Linked DNA regions of Homo sapiens: all the other regions are linked to region 3. The links are contacts of gene promoters, found by promoter capture Hi-C in human tissues and cell types (Jung and others, 2019). All regions are on one chromosome and are shown on one strand. The core of a region is centred on a gene start or on the middle of the fragment in contact, and the rest is flanking DNA. Distances in the headings are between cores, read along the strand shown. Region 1 overlaps DMRT1 (doublesex and mab-3 related transcription factor 1). Region 2 holds the start of DMRT2 (doublesex and mab-3 related transcription factor 2). Region 3 holds the start of DMRT3 (doublesex and mab-3 related transcription factor 3).

Region 1 (3,200 bases), core at 350-2,849, 85 kb before region 3:
ATTACTGCCATTATTTTGTTGCTTGATAAACTGAGGCCTGATAAAAGGTTCAGATTAAGGTCATGCTGCAGAAATTCAAGAACTTGTGCTGTGCCCTGATTCTGGAATGCTGGAATCCTTGGGTTTCTATTTATTCGTCTGCTACTGTATTTTGTTTTCTTTTTTAAGAAGCTTGCTTTTGAAAGGCAGGCCTTAAGTGGGAGGTATTCAGTGTTTTTAATGCAGGGACAGGCCTAAGTGTCTAAAATGCCTTCCTAAATGTCTGTGAGATTGTATAGGAATGAACCATTAATGTTTATGACTGCATGGTAGGATAGGTCATTTATTCTTTTTCTGACTTAGATGCTCATATAATTTATTAAATTTGAGAAGCTCATAAGGCTTTTGTAATCAGATAAACAATAGAGACATGACCTTGAAAACAAAAGAATGATATAGAAAACCACCACTTAACGCCACCAAACGTGTTTTTTTTTTTTTTTTTTTTTGAGCCGGAGTCTTGCTCTGTCACCCAGGCTGGAGTGCAGTGGCGTGATCTTGGCTCAGGCCGACTGAGCTGAGATCTCAGGCCGCCCGCCTCAGCCTCCCAAAGTGCTGGGATTACAGGCGTGAGCCACCGCACCCGGCCCAAACTGATGTTTAAAATAAGAGAAAGGCCCAGTGGGGAAGTTGAGGAGGAGCGAATGGACATGTGCCCTCTCCAGACTTGGGGGTGTGGAATAATGGCATTGGAATGTCTCATCTCATTAGCTGGGAAGAGGAGAGAAGAAAGGAAAGGAATAGAATAAAACAGTGGTTTGGGAGTGCATTTACAGGAGCCTAGCATAGGTGGATTTGGTTTCCTTTCAGAGAAAAGTGACACCAATGCTGACTTTAAAATGAGGCTTCAAAAATAAATTTTGTTGTAGATCTCAGCCAGACCTTCCAGAGCTTGCACTTTAGTTTTGCCCTCTCCCTTGCATGTTTTTGTTTTCCCACACACTCAGCCAGTGGATGGTTTCTGGGCACCTTCTTTGGGCCATGCATTGTGCTGGAAATTTCTCTCATGAGCCAATTCTGTCTGCTTAAGGACACTTAAACCTCTATTTATTTCTTTATTTTTATTTTTTTATTTGAGACAGAGTCTCATTCTGTCACCCAGGCTGGAGTGCAGTGACGCGATCTCTGCTCACTGCAACCTCGGCCTCCCAGGTTCAAGCAATTCTCCTGCCTCATCCTCTGCAGTAGCTGGGTCTACAGGTACGCACCACCATGCCGATGTCCGGCTAATTTTTTTTTGTATTTTTTTTTTAGTGGAGACGGGGTTTCACCATGTTGGTCAGGCTGGTCTCGAACTCCTGACCTCAAATGATCAGACCTACCTCAGCCTCCCAAAGTACTGGGATTACAGGCGTGAGCCACCGCGCTCAGCCTTAAACCTTTTTAGAAAAGTGAAACAAGGCCAGGTGTAGTGGCTCATGCCTGTAATCGTAGCACTTTGGGAGGACAAGGTGGTTTGATTGCTGGAGCTCAGGAGTTTGAGACCAGCCTGGGCAACATAGTGAGACCCCATCTCTATACAAAAAAATTAAAAAAAAAAAAAGCTAAGAGCTTATTAAAATTCAGATTGCTTGAGCTCAGGAGTTCGAGATCAGCCTGGCCAACATGGTGAAACCCCGTCTCTACTTAAAAAAAATACAAAAATCAGCCAGGCATGGTGGCTTGCGCCTGTATTCCCAATTACTTGGGCTGCTGAGGTGGGAGGATCGCTTGAGCCCAGAAGGAGGAAGTTGCAGTGAGCCGAGATCGTACCACTGCACTCCAGCCTGGGCGACAGAGTGAGACCCTGTCTCAAATAAGTAAATAAACAAAATAAAAGTGAAACGACAAGATCTTATGACTCCCTGGAGGTTTTACTTTTTTTTTTTTTTCTCCCAGACGGAGTCTTGCTCTGTCGCCCAGGCTGGAGTGCAGTGGCCCAATATCGTCTCACTCCAACCTCTGTCTCCCAGGTTCAAGCGATTCTCCTGCCTCAGCCTCCCAAGTAGCTGGGACTGCAAGCATACGCCACCACGCCTGGCTAATTTTTTTTTTTTTTTGGTATTTTTAGTAGAGACAGGGTTTCACCGTGTTAGCCAGGATAGTCTTGATCTCCTGACCTCGTGAATCACCTGCCTCGGCCTCCCAAAGTGCTGGGATTACAGGCGTGGGCCACCGTGCCTGGCTGGAGCTTTTACTTTTAACTCACATTATTTTTGATGCCAAGCTACTTGAAAAATGATTATTCCTCAGTCCCTTCAGCAAATATTGACCCACTGTGTCTGGCAGTGTGCTAAGCACGGAGGACACAGTGGTGTGCCCGGAGGCTGGGTGCCTTCTTGCTGGATCTCACGTCCTGGTAGTCCTGGTAGGAGAGAGGCCATTCACTGGAGTCATCTCTTTGGATTTCTTGTTGCTTGTTGCTCCTTGCTCTCTTGCAGGCCTGCATCTGCTCCTTTCATCATGGTTAAAACCGCAAGGCCCTGAAGACCTAGTTGTCTGTTGGTCTTTTCTAGAACTGTTTGCTTGATGTCCCAGCAGCAGTTGACACCACAGCCTGCTTGCTCTGTGATTCAAGTCAGCTTTAACCTCTGTGACGTTGTATTCTCTGTTTTTCACGCTCCAGGTCTTGGCTCTCCTTTATTCTGTAACAGCTCCTCCCTTCCTTGCCCAGATGGAGCTAGCACCTCCAGTGGTGACTCTTGGATCTGGCTTCCAGTCTCAGCCTCTCCCAAAAGCACGCGTTTCATGTTCCTCACCCTCACCCAGCCCTCCACCTGCACACCTGCCCACCCTCTGCTCTACACACCCAGGCTCCTGCTCTCTGCCTCCCCTGCATCTTAATTCCTGGCAGCCCCTCAGCCCTCCAGTTCTGTTGCGTTTCATCCCCCACATGTCCCTGGAACAGGCTCCTCTCTTACATTTGCAGGCCTTAGAGTTCTGGTCTGTCCTTGAACTCACTTTGGTGGTTCCCTAGCAGGTCTTTCTGCCTCTGATCTCTCTCTCCTTCACTTGCCCTAAGCAGTTGCCCTTAGATAAATCTCCTCCAAGCACAGCTCTGACCGTGTAACCTCCTTGCTCAGAACTCAGTGGTTCCCATTACATCCCAGAGTCAGGAGAGCTGGACTGAGGCCCGCCTCACCTTACCCTAGCCCATCTTTCATACTACATGTCTCCTTCCC
Region 2 (2,500 bases), core at 1-2,500, 74 kb after region 3:
TGCCTGGTCACCGGGGAGGAACTTTACAACATCACTGAAGGTTTGAGAATAGTGCTTCTGGCTGGTCGCGGTAGTTCCTAAGCTGCCTTTGTTCCCACTTCTCTGATCCAGGTTAACTTTTAACATTCTGACAAACTCGGACAAAAGTAACGTTGGGATTACGTCAGGAATTCCCACCCTTCAACAAATATTTGTTGCGGGCCTACTATGTACTCAGTGCAATGATACCCAATTTTGTAGTCTCCTAAACAGATCCTACTCGAGAGGTCTTGATTATTTACAGATGCAGTTAGAAAAGCGCCCATATTATTTTTAATTGAGTTCAAGAAATAGAATGCAGCGTTGAATTAGAAGACTAATTCCTTCTTTTAATATGTTGAAAATTTTTTATCGTTAAACATTTTGTAAAGGATTTTTTGAGGGAGTCGTTAGAAAGTCTATAAATACAACTACGCACACTAAAAAGTAGTCATCTTTTTAAAAATAACTTTGTTTAAATGCATGCTTAGTGTGAATGGATTTACCTAATTCTCTTAATAGCATGCATTTCTGATCTTCCCTACATTAACTGTAATAGCAACTGATATAACAGAAAAATGTAAGTGACTTGTAGTCGACTTGGCCACCTGCCACACGGGCTCGGTGAAGGTTAATGAGGAGCTATTTGGCACTTCGAGAATAGGTGGCACTAGACACAGAAATATCAACAGGCTATTTGTATGCTAACTAGGAGTTTCGGTGCCAGGTAACCATTGATGTACTCTTGCAGGAGAAAGAAGGATGTCGCTGTACGCCCCGAAAGAGAGGCATCATTTTTACGCCCAGTTTGGATTAATGATTGATTGAGTCGCAGAAATGCTTGTGATGCTGATAGAGGCCAATACTGGTCTTTCTGATCTCTTCCTCGTCGTTTATTACCTTCTCTTGTGGACAACGCATTCCTAAGAATGTATCTCTGCTTGTTTCCCAGTCCGCGAGATAAATGGTGACTTCTCTCTTGCAGGCACCGTCATACCTCGGGTTTAGATTCTGGACAGGCGAGCCGGCTGCACCGAAGGCCCGGTAGGCGGACTCTGGCGGAGCGCTTCAGAGAGAAGAGTGTAGACCGCGGGAGGCGGAGGGCTCCCTGCCAGCGTGCCTCGGCCAATCAGTATTCACACCGCCTGACAACCGGCCAATCAGAGGACGTAAAGCTCCGGGGCCTGAGCGGACAGTACTAGGAAGGGGAGCGCAGTCTGCAGACTGAAGCCAGTGGCGCTGCGCTGAATGCAACTGCGCGCGCCCGCCGGGTGAGCCAGCGATCTGAGCCAGGCGGGGGCGGCCCGACCTTTCCCGCCCAGCCTGGGTCAGAGGAAGCCGAAAGCGGCCTCAGCAAGGTGAGGCGCCCGAGGCTGCAGAAGACCGAGCAGAACTTTGCAGAGTTCGGGATGTGCTGGGCTAGGTCGCTGAGGACTTGACTGGCTTCCTCCCTCCTTCCCTCCACCTACCTTCTCCCTCCCCCTCCACCATCCAGTGGGTTCGTTCCGGGCCTCCAGCTATCAGCTCCCGATCTCGTGTTTGAGGGTAGCGACCCCGATTTCTGTTTGCATGCACAGCCAGCAGCCCTAGCGCCAGATCCTAAAGCTGGATATCTTTTAACTGGGCTACCAGCCCGGGCCTCAAAGTTTTGGTGAGTGCTGTGATGCCGCTCGGGGTGTCAGGGAGGGCAAAGGGCGTGAATCATCTTTCACCTTTTCTGTGTGACTTGGATGCCTTACCTTAAATATATAAACCAAGGCCTAAGTACAGAGAGCCCACGCGGCTCAGCCCTGTGCACCTCAGGTACTATTAAGGCTGGACGGGCGTCTGTATTGTGCTCTTTGCCCTTATGGGACGCTAATGACAACAAAATTTTGGTTTTCAGTTGAGTATTTTGGGGAGGGGGGTGAGAGGACCTCTTCAAGCCCAAGGAGGGGTCCTTGTGGTGGTGTAGGCTGATGAGAGGCATTTGGGAAGCATAGAGTGGTACTTCAGTGAGTCTGAAGGGCCACTTGTAATCAAAGGAAAACTGTTCTTCCACGGATAGTTTTATATGCATCATGGCCATACTAGTTGAGTATGGGGAAATCCGACAAGTGGCCTGGGGCTGCCTATTTGGACACAATATTTTGTGTGTGTGTGATAAGTGAGTTACCCAGGGACTTGTCCGGAAAGCCCGTGTAAAGCCAGAGAGGGCCACGGTTAAAGGTCAGGTACTCACAGAGCACTTAGAATTAATAAAATAAAACCTTTGTTGGGTTGTGGATCCCTGGGGGCCCTGGAGATACAGGAAAGGCACGTGTGGCCTGGAAGTGAGGGACATGTAATGAGAACAGGATGACTCAAGCGGCCGGAGGCGGGCAGACCAGGAGCTTTGGGCCGGAGGCTCAGGGATGGTCCCTGACGGCGGCCGGTGGGTCTTTGGATTTCTTTGTGTTTCCCCAGAGTGAGGGCCGCCAGGCTCAGGCCCCAGCGAAGCCCC
Region 3 (3,156 bases), core at 220-2,719:
CTAGAACGCCTGGAGGTGCTTCCCTTGAATTCATGGCAAACACCAGAGGAAAGTTTTCAGGTTGCTTGCTTACTTCCAGGGCAGTACAGAGAAAAGCGGCCTCCCCGAGGGGACAAGGGCCTCTGTGCCCATGAGGGGTCGGACATTGCAGCGGACTTGCCTACGCTCTCATCTAGCATTTGATTCCCCACCAGGAGATGGGCTTGGTGCACGCTCTCAGAAGCGCATCCACCGAAGGCTCTGGAACTGCCCCGCTTCGCATAGAGCTATTGTGCTGCCCTGCAGTGTATCCACTTGTTTTGTTTGTTTGTTTGTTTTTTGGTTTTTGCTTGTTTGCTGATGGGCAGTGGGGAGGTGCGAGGGTGGAGGGCCTTCTTTGTGCATATATAGCGATAGTCTGCACTAGGCCAAGCCCGCTACTCCTGGGAGAATGGGAACACGCAAATAATCTAAACAAAGTTTTCTGCTGTCATCTTGTGAAGGACCCTCTCCCCCAAGACATCTATGACTGGGGTCTATGGGTTAAGGAGGTGAAAAAGTGGCCCCATCCCATATCCATAACTGAATCACAGAATCCGTGGGGATTTGAACTGAGTGGCTGGCGCAAGACCTCCGTTTGCTTCCAGTAGCTGCTGGGAGCGAGGGAAGAGGATATCGGTAACTTTGGGGGCGCCAATGTGGCTTCTGTGTCTGCCCCTTGAAAGTTTATACCCGGCGCTTAACAAATCCTTTACAGGAGCACGTACGTCCCTGACCTTTCAGGATACTGTTTTATATTAAAACATGGACAGGAGGGTAGAAAAGTAAAATTCGCCTGCAAAATGGCTTGTCATCCTTGGGCCGGCAGATCTCCAAAACCATTTTCTTCTAAAGCAACAAAAGAGAAAAAAATACGTTCTAAAAGGAAATTACGAAAAGAGCCTAACTTTCCTAAACCAACATCACTTCACTCCCCTATCCTAAACTCCACCCAGGTCCGGGGTGCAACCGCAACACTCCCGTAGGTTCGAGTTCTCCCGGAGCTGAGCTTCTGCGGCCAAATGTCGGGATAAAAGCGGCCTTGGGCTCGGAAAAACGCGGCCAGATCTGGACTGGAGGGAGGAGAAGAGAGAGAAGCGGAGCGGCCACCTCACTCGCTTACAGGCACCCCCACCCTCACTCCCGCTGGTCCTCCCCTTCTCCGCCCCGCGAGCACCGCCGCGTTCTGGAGCGCCGCAGTCTCCAGCCGCGGGCTGGGGTAGCGGAGAGGGCTTGGAGGAGGGGGCCGCGAGCGCCCCCGCGAGAGTGGCCTGGCTGCAGGTGGCAAGGAAGGTGAAGTGCAGGCACCCGAGGGGCGCAAAGGAGGAGGAAGGCGTGGGGCGGGGAGTGCAAGGAGACAGGGACCCCAGGGGCGGGGGTGGCGGTGGGAAGGAGGAGGGGTTGGGGGAGGGCGGCGGAGGTGTTGGGTCCGGCCGGCTCACGAGGGAGCTGCAGAAGAGCTGGCTCAGACCTTAATCAGAGCTGTCGCCGGCTCCTTGCAGCCGCCGCAGCGCCTCCGCGAAGGAGGACGTGCCGACCCGGCTGCGCGCCCAAGGCAGAGGCCCGCGTCGGCGTTGGCTGGGCGTGAGCTGGGAGGCCGAGCTGTGAGCGCGAAGGGAGCTGGAGAGACGACTGCGGCACCTCCGGCCGCCCCGGAGCACACACGACCACCGGGGCTGCGGGACCAAGGGCCGCGTCGCCCGGAGGCCGCCCCTGAGCGGGCCTCGCAGCCCCGCCGTCCAGCGCTCCCTGGCCCTCTCCCGCAGCCAGGCTGCCAACTCATTCGGGAGCCCGGGGCATGAACGGCTACGGCTCCCCCTACCTGTACATGGGCGGCCCGGTGTCGCAGCCGCCACGGGCGCCCCTGCAGCGCACGCCCAAGTGCGCGCGCTGCCGCAACCATGGCGTCCTGTCCTGGCTCAAGGGCCACAAGCGTTACTGCCGCTTCAAGGACTGCACCTGCGAGAAGTGCATCCTCATCATCGAGCGGCAGCGGGTCATGGCTGCGCAGGTGGCGCTGCGCCGGCAGCAGGCCAACGAGAGCTTGGAGAGCCTCATCCCCGACTCGCTGCGCGCTCTGCCAGGGCCCCCGCCGCCGGGGGACGCCGTCGCCGCCCCGCAGCCGCCGCCAGCCTCTCAGCCGTCGCAGCCGCAGCCGCCGCGCCCTGCTGCCGAGTTGGCCGCGGCCGCCGCGCTGCGTTGGACTGCCGAGCCGCAGCCCGGGGCTCTGCAGGCGCAGCTCGCCAAGCCAGGTAAGAGCGTCTGAGGTGCGGGAGTTTGGCCGGGCGCGGGGGCAACTTCGGAGTGCCAGCTGCAGCTCCACTTGGGAGGACTGGAGGCAAAGTTTTGGGACGTGGGCCTGTCGGGGCTTTCCTTCCTACTCTCCGCCAGGCCGGGGCTTCCTCTCCCGGGAGAAGCCGGCTGAGTCTGGACCCAGCGCGAGTGGCACTCGCGCCCGCAGGGAAGGCGCCTCCGGGCAGCCAAACGACGGGACTGTGCGTCAGTATCGCCAGGTGCCTTCCCAGGTTGAAGGGTTCGGAACGTGTCAGATTGAGCAGGGAGACAACGGAGTTGAGACAGGACAAAATTAAAACCCACGTGCGCACACTCACTACGGTGGGGTCGGATTTTCCTGGCTGCAGGCTTTAGAGGTCCTTGCCATTTGGGGGTTGGAATGGGTAGGTAGGTGTAGGGAAGGAGCCAAGGCCAACACTCGGCTGAGTCGAGCTGGCTGTGCTTCTCGGCCGGCCCGGCCCTGCCCAGGGCCCAGGAAAATTTGAGTGAGGACAAGTATCCAACTCTCAGAACCCTGGCCTTTCTAGCTTTGCTCCGTGGCCTCCAGACTCTTGTAACTGGTGAAATAAGTTCCATTTAGCAATGATAGTAAAAGGGTCCGGAAAGGCTTGTGAGCTGATAGCGGGAAAAGAATCTGATGCGCCCAGAATTCACTCCTTTGCAGAACCTCCTAGATCCTTTAACACTGTTCCCCAGGCTGCCCTCAGCTGTCTTCGTGGTTTAAAGGAATACAAAAAATCTGATCCCCCACCACCCATCCGTTTCCATCCAGGCCTCCTGAGCTTGGCAGGCCTGAGTTGAGTCTCTTAGTCTCTCTCTTCCTGGGGAATTTCTAGCTTGCGG

Evidence for each region. The method cuts DNA at HindIII sites, captures the fragments that hold promoters and counts their contacts. A contact is called where the count stands out against the background at its distance.
Region 1: a fragment that was not itself captured here is called in contact with the fragment with the promoter of DMRT3 in region 3 in 11 of the 25 tissues and cell types used here (H1 embryonic stem cells, adrenal gland, dorsolateral prefrontal cortex and 8 more).
Region 2: the fragment with the promoter of DMRT2 here is called in contact with the fragment with the promoter of DMRT3 in region 3 in 1 of the 25 tissues and cell types used here (neural progenitor cells).

What each region holds. Positions count from the first base shown.
Region 1 is chr9:889,619-892,818 of GRCh38, forward strand. All of the region lies in intron 2 of DMRT1 (doublesex and mab-3 related transcription factor 1), which reads left to right. Among named protein-coding and RNA genes, the nearest start is that of DMRT1, 50 kb to the left of the region's middle. The HindIII fragment of the contact is 7,219 bases long and covers 1-3,200 here.
Region 2 is chr9:1,049,107-1,051,606 of GRCh38, forward strand. It overlaps DMRT2 (doublesex and mab-3 related transcription factor 2), which reads left to right and starts at 1,251. Exons shown (of 4, transcript NM_181872.6): 1 at 1,251-1,669; 2 at 2,464-2,500. RefSeq lists an enhancer at 1,023-1,892. The HindIII fragment of the contact is 14,990 bases long and covers 1-2,500 here.
Region 3 is chr9:975,186-978,341 of GRCh38, forward strand. It overlaps DMRT3 (doublesex and mab-3 related transcription factor 3), which reads left to right and starts at 1,470. Exons shown (of 2, transcript NM_021240.4): 1 at 1,470-2,270. The coding sequence starts at 1,817. RefSeq lists enhancers at 1-103, 636-1,137, 1,138-1,637. The HindIII fragment of the contact is 20,406 bases long and covers 1-3,156 here.